Regions from separate parts of the Homo sapiens genome. Here region 2 is linked to region 1. Evidence: promoter capture Hi-C in human tissues and cell types (Jung and others, 2019). All regions are on one chromosome and are shown on one strand. Each heading gives the region's core, a stretch centred on a gene start or on the middle of the fragment in contact. The rest is flanking DNA. Distances are from core to core; before and after follow the strand shown.

Region 1 (4,618 bases), core at 1,923-4,422:
GGGAAGAGGCTAACTAATGTTTGGACAATCAAATGATGTTACTACACTTGGGCACCACTGTTTAAGAATCCCTGGGCTGTAAATCAGGAACTGTGAGTTTGTTGGGATTCTGCCAGAGACTCTGACTCAGTGCTACTCCAGGAATTTTATCTTTCAGACCTCTCTTTCTTTTTGTAGGAATTCCTACTCTATCCCATATAAGCAAATCTCAGGGACTAAGCAAGTAGATGTTAGCAGTCAACCATATGTAAGATTCTTTTATAAAATTCAACATGATGGCGTGAATAAACTCACTATGCTACCACTGGTTGTGAAACCTGAAGAGATTAAACAAACTTTGCATTTTCTCAAAACAAACAAAAAAGAGTTTGTTAGAATTAATAAAGCTGACCCCAAGCTAGGATAAGTTGGATCCAGTGTCATACAAGGCCATTTCCAATTCTAAACAAATAACGTTGACCACATGGAGCCTGTGGGGAAAACTGGTCAACTCTCACCTGAAGTTCCAAAAGTTGAGAATATCATATTCTGTCCCAGAAATTAATTTGTAATCCAAATTCACCTGGTCACCAACACTGTTGTTAAATTTGATATTCTTCAGAAAGGAGTTAAGCTTAAAAATAGTGCACTGTTACAGGATGGAAAGAGTTCTGAATTTGGAAAGAAGAAACTTGAATTAGAGTAATACCTTTGAAACTTATTAGATGTGTGGCTTTGGAAAAAGTCCCTTATTGTTTAAATCTTCAACTGTAAAGTTAGTTATTCAATTTTATTTTTACAAGAATTATGTGAGATAATACCTTTGATGGCCCATGAACAAAAATGTGGTATATATAAAGTAAAAATTAGATAAAGAAAACATTATATATGTAATGTAATGATAATTTAATATATAGTATGATAATGGAAATACCCCTTACTTCCTTGGTGGGATGAATGAGGACAGAAGAATCAAAATAATCTCTTGTTATTGGTTGAATTTTGTCTGCCCCAAATTTTGCATGTTGAAGTCCTAACTCCCAGTACCTCAGAATGTGACTGTATTTGGATATAGGATTTTTACAGAGTTAATTAAGTTGAAATGAGGTCGTTAGGGTGGGTCCTAATGCAATCTGACTAGTCTCACCATGTCTCCATGGGTTTTCTCTGGGTACTCCAGATTCCTCCCACATCCCAAAGATGTGCACAGTAAGTTAACTGGTATGTCTAAGTTGTCCCAGTCTGAGTGAGTGTGGGTGTGTAGTAGGCTACACAATCTAGGTTTGTGTAAGTACACTCTATGATGTTTGCACAACAAGGTTCTTAGGAAATTGCCTAAGAACCCATTTCTCAGAATGTATCTCCATCCTTTAGCGATGTAGACTGTATTTCCATACTGTAAATAGTCCCCTTGTGGTGGATTTCAATCTACCAATATGACATCACTGAATGTGGAGTTAGAAAGAAAGGTACAGTTCATGGCTCTCAGTTCCTACAGCTCTTTTAATTTCCTAAATGACTGCAGCAATAAAGTATCTTTTGTTAAAATATCTGGCCTTTTGTTCCTGGTTCCTGAAAAAGCTCCAGAACAGCTCCAGAGCCATAAAGGTGAAAGACAGTATTTCAACCACACATGAGTTTATGTTAATGAGGTGATTTTTGGAAACTCTCAAGATAATCCCAATATTTGGGGGGAGTGGTGGCTAGTTGCCAGAGGAACCAGCCATGTGCTCAGAGGACTGGAACTCACAGCTCCACCCTCTACTTCTGGGAAAAGAGAGAGCCTGAAAATTAAGTTGATCGCCAGTGGCCAATGATTTAATCAATCACATCTACATAATGAAACCTTGAAAACCGAAAAGGCCTGAGTTCAAGCGGCTTCCAAGAAGGTAGACAAAAACACATCCTCGTGCTGGGAGGGTGGTGCACCCCAACTCCACGGGCACAGAAGTTCCTGCACTAGGGATTCTCTCGGACCTTGCCCTACATGTCTCTTCATCTGGCTATTTGTATCCTTTAAAATATCTTTTATAATAAACCAGTAAACATAAGTGTTTCCTTGAGTTCTGTGAGCTGCTCTAGCAAACTAATGGAACCCAAGGAGCCGGCTGTGGGAGCCCCAATTTATAGCACATCTCTCTGAAACACAGGTACAACAATCTGGAGTTTGGAATTGGCATGGGAAGTGGGGGACAGTCTTTTGGGACTGAGCTGTCTAACCTGTAGGATCTGATGTTTTCCAGGTAGCGTCAGAATTGAATTGGAGTAGCGGTCACCTGGCTGGTGTCTGCTGCAGACAGGTTTTTTTGACATGTTAAGACATTATAAGAGACAATAGAAAAAATGTATACGATACAACCTTCTCTGAGTTATATTTCTCCATAGCCCTTTTTACTGTTCATCAGACTGTTTATCTAACTCATGAATTTGTGGCTTGTCTCTCTCCGCTTCAAAGTAAATTACATAATAAGAGGACAGGGATTTTTTTTTCTCTGCTGTATCCCCCTGAATTGCTTTTCCTTATTTGTCTCACCTTCCAATACTAATTCTACAGTTCTCCTAGTCAGGGCTAGTCCCCTAAAACGGGGACCATTTCCATTTTGTTAAGGGGCTGAACGCGGTTCAAGCCTAGCAGATTGGTTCCAAAAACGTCGTGTTATTCACTGCCTCTGATCAGTGACATTCCCATTTGCAGCTGAAAGAGGTATTAATTCGCCAGAGTCACAACACGGTCGGGGTTCCTCGTCGCTGTCTTATTCCAAAATAAGCTTAACACAGAAAGATAATGACACTCCCACGGACTGGCACAGAAGGCCGCGCTCCGAATGACATCGCGATCACAGAGGCACAGACAGCGTCACAAAGCCCCACGCGTACTCACACCGAAGGCTCAGCCGTCGCGCGTTTCCCTCCCAGGCCCCAGGAACTAGTAACTAGGGACGCTTCTGGTCTCTAGGCGAGGAGAGGGGGAGAGCGCAATCTTTGCGCCTGCGCACACTCCTGCTCTTACCCGCCGGAACCCTGGGCCACGCCCGGCTCGCGTAATCACGCACTGCGCAGGCACCGCCCGCTCTGCTCTAAGGTCCCTCTCACTCCTTCAGCAGCCCGAGGACAATCCCCTCAACACTAGGCCACGCCTTGTCTCCGCCCCTCTCGTCCGACCCCTGGAGAGAGGCTGGCGCCTGCGCGATGGGGGGTTCCAGCGTCGACTCACGGAGTCCTTCGGATGAGAGCGTCTGGGTGCCAGACGAGGCCGGGGGTTTGTTTTGGGTGGTTTGGGAGTCCGAGCTCGAGGGCTGGGCCAGGAAGGGCAGGCGAGGCGGGCGGCTCCGACGCGGGTCGCGAAGGCCCAGCCGCGTCCTCTGTCCCCAGGACGACTACATTTCCCAGAGGCCAGCGGGGCGCGCGTACTCGAGTCTGCGGGGCGGAGGCCGCGGCTCGGGGCTGCTGGGCGTTCGGGGCGGCTTGGGGCGGCGGGACCACTGGAGTGAGCTGTGGGAGAGATGGGGGTGTGCCTGTGTGTAAAAGATCTGTCAGAGTGTGAGGCTCCGTGAGAGGGTGTGGTTTCTGTGTGTGTGTGTGTGTGTGTGTGACAGACCGAGAGTCCAGTGTGAGACCAGGGTATGTTCGTGTGTGACAGAGCGAGACGGGCCAGTGTGAGAGACCAGTGAGTGTGAGAGAGATAGGGATGTGCCTGCATTTGAAAGAGAGCGTGTGAAGCTCAGTGAGAGGTTGCGAGGTGTGTGGGTGTGTAAGTGTGTAACAGACCAGGTGTCCAGAGCGTGAGACCAGGATGTATTCGTGTGAGAGAGTGAGACGGGCTGGATGGAGTGTGAGAGACCAGTGAGTGTGAGAGATGGGCGTGTGCCTGTGTGTGAAAGGCCGGTCGGTCGGTGGGTGAGGCTCAATGAGAGGCCGGTGTGTGTTCGAGAGAGAGAAGAATCACCATGTATGCGAGACTAGACTGTGCAAGAACAGAGTGTGAGACTGTGGTATGTTAATGTGTGAAAGGGAGACCAGTGAGTGTGAGAAATGGGTGTTTTGGGTGAAAGACCCGTCAGTGTGTGAGGCCGTGTTATGTGTGTCTGACAGACTGAGAGAGACCAGAGTGTGAGACCAGGGTGTGTTCGTGTGTGAGAGACAACATAGCGTGAGACCAGTGAGTGTGAGAGAGATGAGCACGTGGCTGTGTGTGAAAGACCAGTCATTATGTGAGGCTCCTTGAGAGGCTGGTGTGTGTGTATGAGAGAGAGAAAGAGACTAAACTGTGAGAGTCCAAAGAGTGAGACTAGGTTATGTTGTTATGAGTTTGTGAGAGAGAGGGAGGCGATCAAAGTATAGGACAAAGTTATGTTTCCTGGCTTACGACTTCTAAGATCCTTGGAATCTCCAAAGTATTAAGTGTCTTTTTGCATGCTAATGATTGGTGGGCTGGCAGCCTGTAGGTTGATCACGGTAAGGGATGGTCACAAGAACAATCTAGGCAGGATTAGAGGGTTGGGATTACCTGCCCCATCCCTCAATCTCCAGGGAAAGGAAAGGGAGCCACAGGTTAAACTGATCATCAGTGGTCAGTGATTTAACCAGTCATGCCTACATTATGAAGCTTCCATAAAAACCCAAAAGGACTGGGTTCATC
Region 2 (4,851 bases), core at 487-2,986, 130 kb before region 1:
GCCAAAGGCAAAGACTAGAACTCTCTTTGGAAAAGGTTAAATTATTTACTACACAATGGCTAAGATTTATTTTAGCAAAAGATATAAAACAAAATCAGCAAAGGTAAGCTCATAAGGCAAAGTCTGGAGGAAATCAGGAATGTGCTTCCGAGATTCCTCTCCCAGGGGAGTCACACAGGAGGTACTTAATTCCTCTAGCAGCAACTTGTGTGGTATGTGTGAGATAATAGCAGCTAGACAACATTAGACTTAGTGCCAAGGAATTTACTTAGGGAAGCCATAAAGGTACCCTCTGCCGAGTATATGCTAAAAATCCAGAATCTCAGAAGGAAAGTAGGTGTTCCGCATAAACCACATCATCTGCACAAATAGCTTAGGCACAGTAAGCCACTTGTACCAGTTCCGGGAATGGTAGAAACCCTCATGAAATCCAAGTTCCTTAGAGGTCAGTCAGGGGCCAACGTTGTAAGCACACCTTTCTAAGGAGAACAGTCTCAAAGCCTGCTGTGTTCTTTTCTGAGTTTGTTTAAAAGTATAGAAACTTGCAGTGAGTTTACATTTGAGTGAGGGGATTAAGACTTGCTTCCACAAACCTTGTGCAAAGTAGAAACTAATTAACTAGTAGAAACTAATTAAAATGGTTTATTTTGATGTGTGGGAGTTAGTAAAGTTTTAGTTTCAAAACTGGGTGATATTTAAAGTTATAGAAAGTGAGGAAATGAAGTACATTTGTGATATATTTATTTAAGGAATTGTTGGAATTAAGGTATGTCTTGAACTGTGAGTTACAAATATGTAGCTGGATCTCAATAGTAATTCAGAATTGGAGATGAATGTGTTTTTTATATGTTTTGTGGTGATGGACCCTTAGGAATGGAAGAAATGAATTGCCTATAGATAGCAGAGAAGGACTGATTGATTGGTAGCAAGAGAAACAGGAAACATCCTGTGTTAGAATTCCAGGGCCTCACTATTCATGAAGAAAAGGTAACCAAAGTAAGACCAAGACGTTAGGATAAGACAACGTTGAAAGGTAGTTTATATCTGACTAATTTATGGTTCTTGCTAAAGTGGATATTTCTATGGTGAAAAGGATGTAGAATAATGAGCTTGAATCGTCACATTTGGTAATAATCTTTTATTTGAGTTCATTTTCAAAACCATTAGGCCTTCGTAGTAGAGGCCCCCTGTAAAACCAGCCCCTCTTGCACCCTTAATGAGGTTAGCCCTCTCCACTGTCTACATACACAGTATAATCTGGAAAAAACAGTGGGATTCCCACATGTTTAGTGCATGAAAAACAGGCCAGACTCAGTCATTTTCCATAATTGACCGGGGTTCTGTTCTGTTCTTTTACAGCAAGCACAGCCAGCATCTCTGCCCCTCTGCCCTTTAGCTCCTAAACAGTAAAAACAACTACAGGTTAGAAGGGTATTATGTTCGTCTTTGTAGCAAGTCCTATTGCCTTTCTTTAATTTTTGATCCTGTTGATCAGTCTTCCTGTAATGCCATTTTGGCCCCTGCAATTCCCCATAGTACATGTTTTCTTAAGCTCTAAATCTGTTTCCTTGCTGCCTTCACTTGACCCTCTTATTTTTCCTGTTTGCTTAGCGATCTCTTTAATCTCAAAATGTCTATATCAGTGAGAATTCATACCCTATCTGCCCCTGATTATATGATTGATTTTATTGTTTCTATATTATGTCAAATTGTTTCTGCAGTAAAATAATTGGAGATGCCTTCTGTCTGGACACATTAATTCCTCTGGTTAATGCATACATATACATACAGAAACTATCATTTACCTTTTTGTGTTTTGAAACTTGTGGTATAACTTAGCACACTGCATCTTGTCCTTTTCACTTAATACATTATCCTGCAGCTCAGAAAACAGCTGAAGTTCACTCTTTTTTTAGTAGCTAAGTAATACTACAGATAGAGATATACCATGGTTAATGATGAGGGACCCCTAGTTTGTTTCCAATATAAAGCCTATTTCAATAAGCATTCTTATCAATATAACCTTAAAAACTGGTATCTTAGTTTCTTGAGTAGGTGCCTAAAGTGGGATTGAAAAGATAAAAGATAGGTATATTACATTAGTTTAATTTGCTTCTGTTCATTGATTTTTTTTCCCCTTTCAGATGTGCCAGGTGCAGAGATTAAGGAGTTATCTGCAAAGAGGGCTATTAATGAAGTATTATCGCAGTTTGACACAGTGATAAAATGTACAAGAAACGTATGTAAGGAATGTGGAAATCTATACTGCCACAATATGCAGCTTACTCTCCATAAGAGAAATCATACACAAAAGAAATGCAATCAGTGTTTAGATTGTGGGAAATACTTCACTCGTCAATCAACTCTCATTCAGCATCAAAGAATCCACACGGGAGAGAGACCCTATAAATGTAACGAATGTATTAAAACCTTCAACCAGAGGGCACACCTTACCTAGCATGAGAGAATTCACACTGGTGAGAAACCTTACAAATGTAAGGAATGCAGGAAAACCTTCAGCCAGATGACTCATCTCACACAGCATCAGACTACACATACGAGAGAAAAGTTCCATGAATGCAGTGAATGTGGAAAGGCCTTCAGCCGTGTCTCAGCTCTTATAGATCACCAGCGAATTCATAGTGGAGAAAAGCCGTATGAATGTAAGGAGTGTGGAAGAGCCTTCACTCAAAGTGCCCAGCTCATTAGACATCAGAAAACTCATTCTGGAGAAAAACCCTATGAGTGTAGTAAGTGTAAGAAATCTTTTGTGCACCTGTCTTCCCTGATTGAACATTGGAGAATTCACACTGGAGAAAAACCATATCAATGTAAGGACTGCAAAAAGACCTTTTGTCGTGTGATGCAGTTCACTCTGCACAGGAGAATTCATACTGGTGAAAAACCCTATGAATGCAAGGAATGTGGAAAGTCCTTCAGCGCCCATTCTTCTCTTGTTACTCATAAGAGAACACACAGTGGAGAAAAACCGTATAAATGCAAGGAATGTGGAAAAGCCTTCAGTGCGCACTCTTCCCTTGTTACTCATAAGAGAACACACAGTGGAGAGAAACCCTATACATGCCATGCCTGTGGGAAGGCCTTTAATACTTCCTCCACACTTTGTCAACATAATAGAATTCATACTGGTGAAAAACCCTTTCAGTGCAGTCAATGCGGGAAGTCCTTTAGCTGCAGCTCTCACCTTACTCGACACTGTAGAATGTGTAATGGAAAATTTAGCAAATAACCAAAACTCAAAATGTTAATTCTGATTATTCTGTATCATCACCAGTACTTTGTACTTTGAGTCTTTTTAAATATGCTCTGTTAGTTTGTATGGAATGATATTTCATTGCACTTTTAATTTAACTTAAAAATGCCTTCCCTTGACTGTTGATATGTATTTTTTGTGAAGTGTGTGTTGAAGCCTTGCAGATTATTTTTTAAATTAGAGGTTTATCACTAGGTATATCTCCTAATGCTATCCCTCCCCCCTCCCCCTAATGTAAATGACGAGTTAATGGTGCAGCACACCAACATGGCACATGTATACATATGTAACAAACCTGCACGTTGTGCACATGGTACCCTAAAACTTAAAGTATAATTAAAAAAAAAAATTAGAGGTTTTTCTTCGGGTGCATTTATGAGAGTTCACCAGATTTTGGAAATATTTTCTATTCTGTAACCTACCTTTTCATTTACATAACAGTGATAAAAGCTTTAAGTTTGATCACATCCAATTAATCACATTTTTTAATAGTTATGCTTTTATTTGTTTTTCAGACAGGGTCTTACTCTGTCACCCAGGCTGGAGTGCAGTGGCACAATCATGGCTCACTGCAGTCTCTGCCTCCCAGGCTCAAGTGATCCTCCCACCTCAGCCTCTCAAGTAGCTGGGACTACAGGCATGTGCCACCACACCTAATTTCTATATTTTTTGTAGAGACTAGGTTTCACCATGTTGTCCAGGCTTGTCTTGACCTCCTGAGCTCAAGCAGTCCATCTGCCTCAGCCTCCCAAAGTGCTGGGACTACAGACATGAGCCATTGTGCCTGACCTAGTTCTGCTTTTTATGTTCTAAGAAGTATTATTTATTCTATGCTGAGCTTACATAGAATTTCTTCCATGTTTTCTATAGCTATAGTGTATTTTTACCTTTTACTGTTAGATCTATTTCATGTTTTTATTATGGATAATGGAGGAGGTAAAGGTTGAATTATATTTTCCCCCATATTATTGACCCATAGTGACACCAGTTTTGGGAGATGTCTTTCATTTTCGCCCTTACGTTGTTATTGGCACCTTTTGCAAAAATCAATTATTTATCATGAGTATACTTCTGAAATGATCTGTTTCATCAATCTATTTGTCTTCTCAGTAGTTCCACATTGTCTTAATTATAGCTTTAGAGGAAGTCTTGAAATTTGGTAGTAAGTCTTCCAGTTTTGTTATTTTAACAAATTTCTCTAGGCTGGGCATGGTGGCTCATGCCTATAATCCCAGCACTTTAGGAGCCCCAGACAGGAGGATCACTTAAGCGCAGAAGATCAAGACCAGCCTGGGAAATATAGCAAGACCTTATCTCTACAAAAAAATTTAGAAATTAGCTGGGCATGGTGGCACCCATCTGTAGTCCTAACTGCTCAGGAGGCTGAGGTGGGAGGATTGCTTGAGTCCAGGAGTTCAAGGCTGCAGTGAGTTGTGATCACACCATTGCAGTCCAGCCAGGTTGACAGAATGAGACCCTGTCTCTTAAAAAAAAAAAAAAAAATCCTGGTGATGCTTTTCTGGATTAAAAAATAAAATAAAATAAAAATTGGCCTCACTACTCTAGCTTATTTGCAT

What was found. Contacts are between HindIII fragments. The study calls those that stand out against the background at their distance.
Region 2: a contact is called between a fragment that was not itself captured here and the fragment with the promoter of ZNF471 in region 1, in 2 of the 25 tissues and cell types used here (dorsolateral prefrontal cortex and mesendoderm cells).

Annotation. Positions count from the first base shown.
Region 1 is chr19:56,504,683-56,509,300 of GRCh38, forward strand. ZNF471 (zinc finger protein 471) reads left to right here and starts at 3,173. Exons shown (of 5, transcript NM_020813.4): 1 at 3,173-3,238. The HindIII fragment of the contact is 4,462 bases long and covers 1,681-4,618 here.
Region 2 is chr19:56,374,723-56,379,573 of GRCh38, forward strand. It overlaps the pseudogene ZNF542P. Among named protein-coding and RNA genes, the nearest start is that of ZNF582, 16 kb to the right of the region's middle. RefSeq lists an enhancer at 2,275-3,474. The HindIII fragment of the contact is 6,401 bases long and covers 1-4,851 here.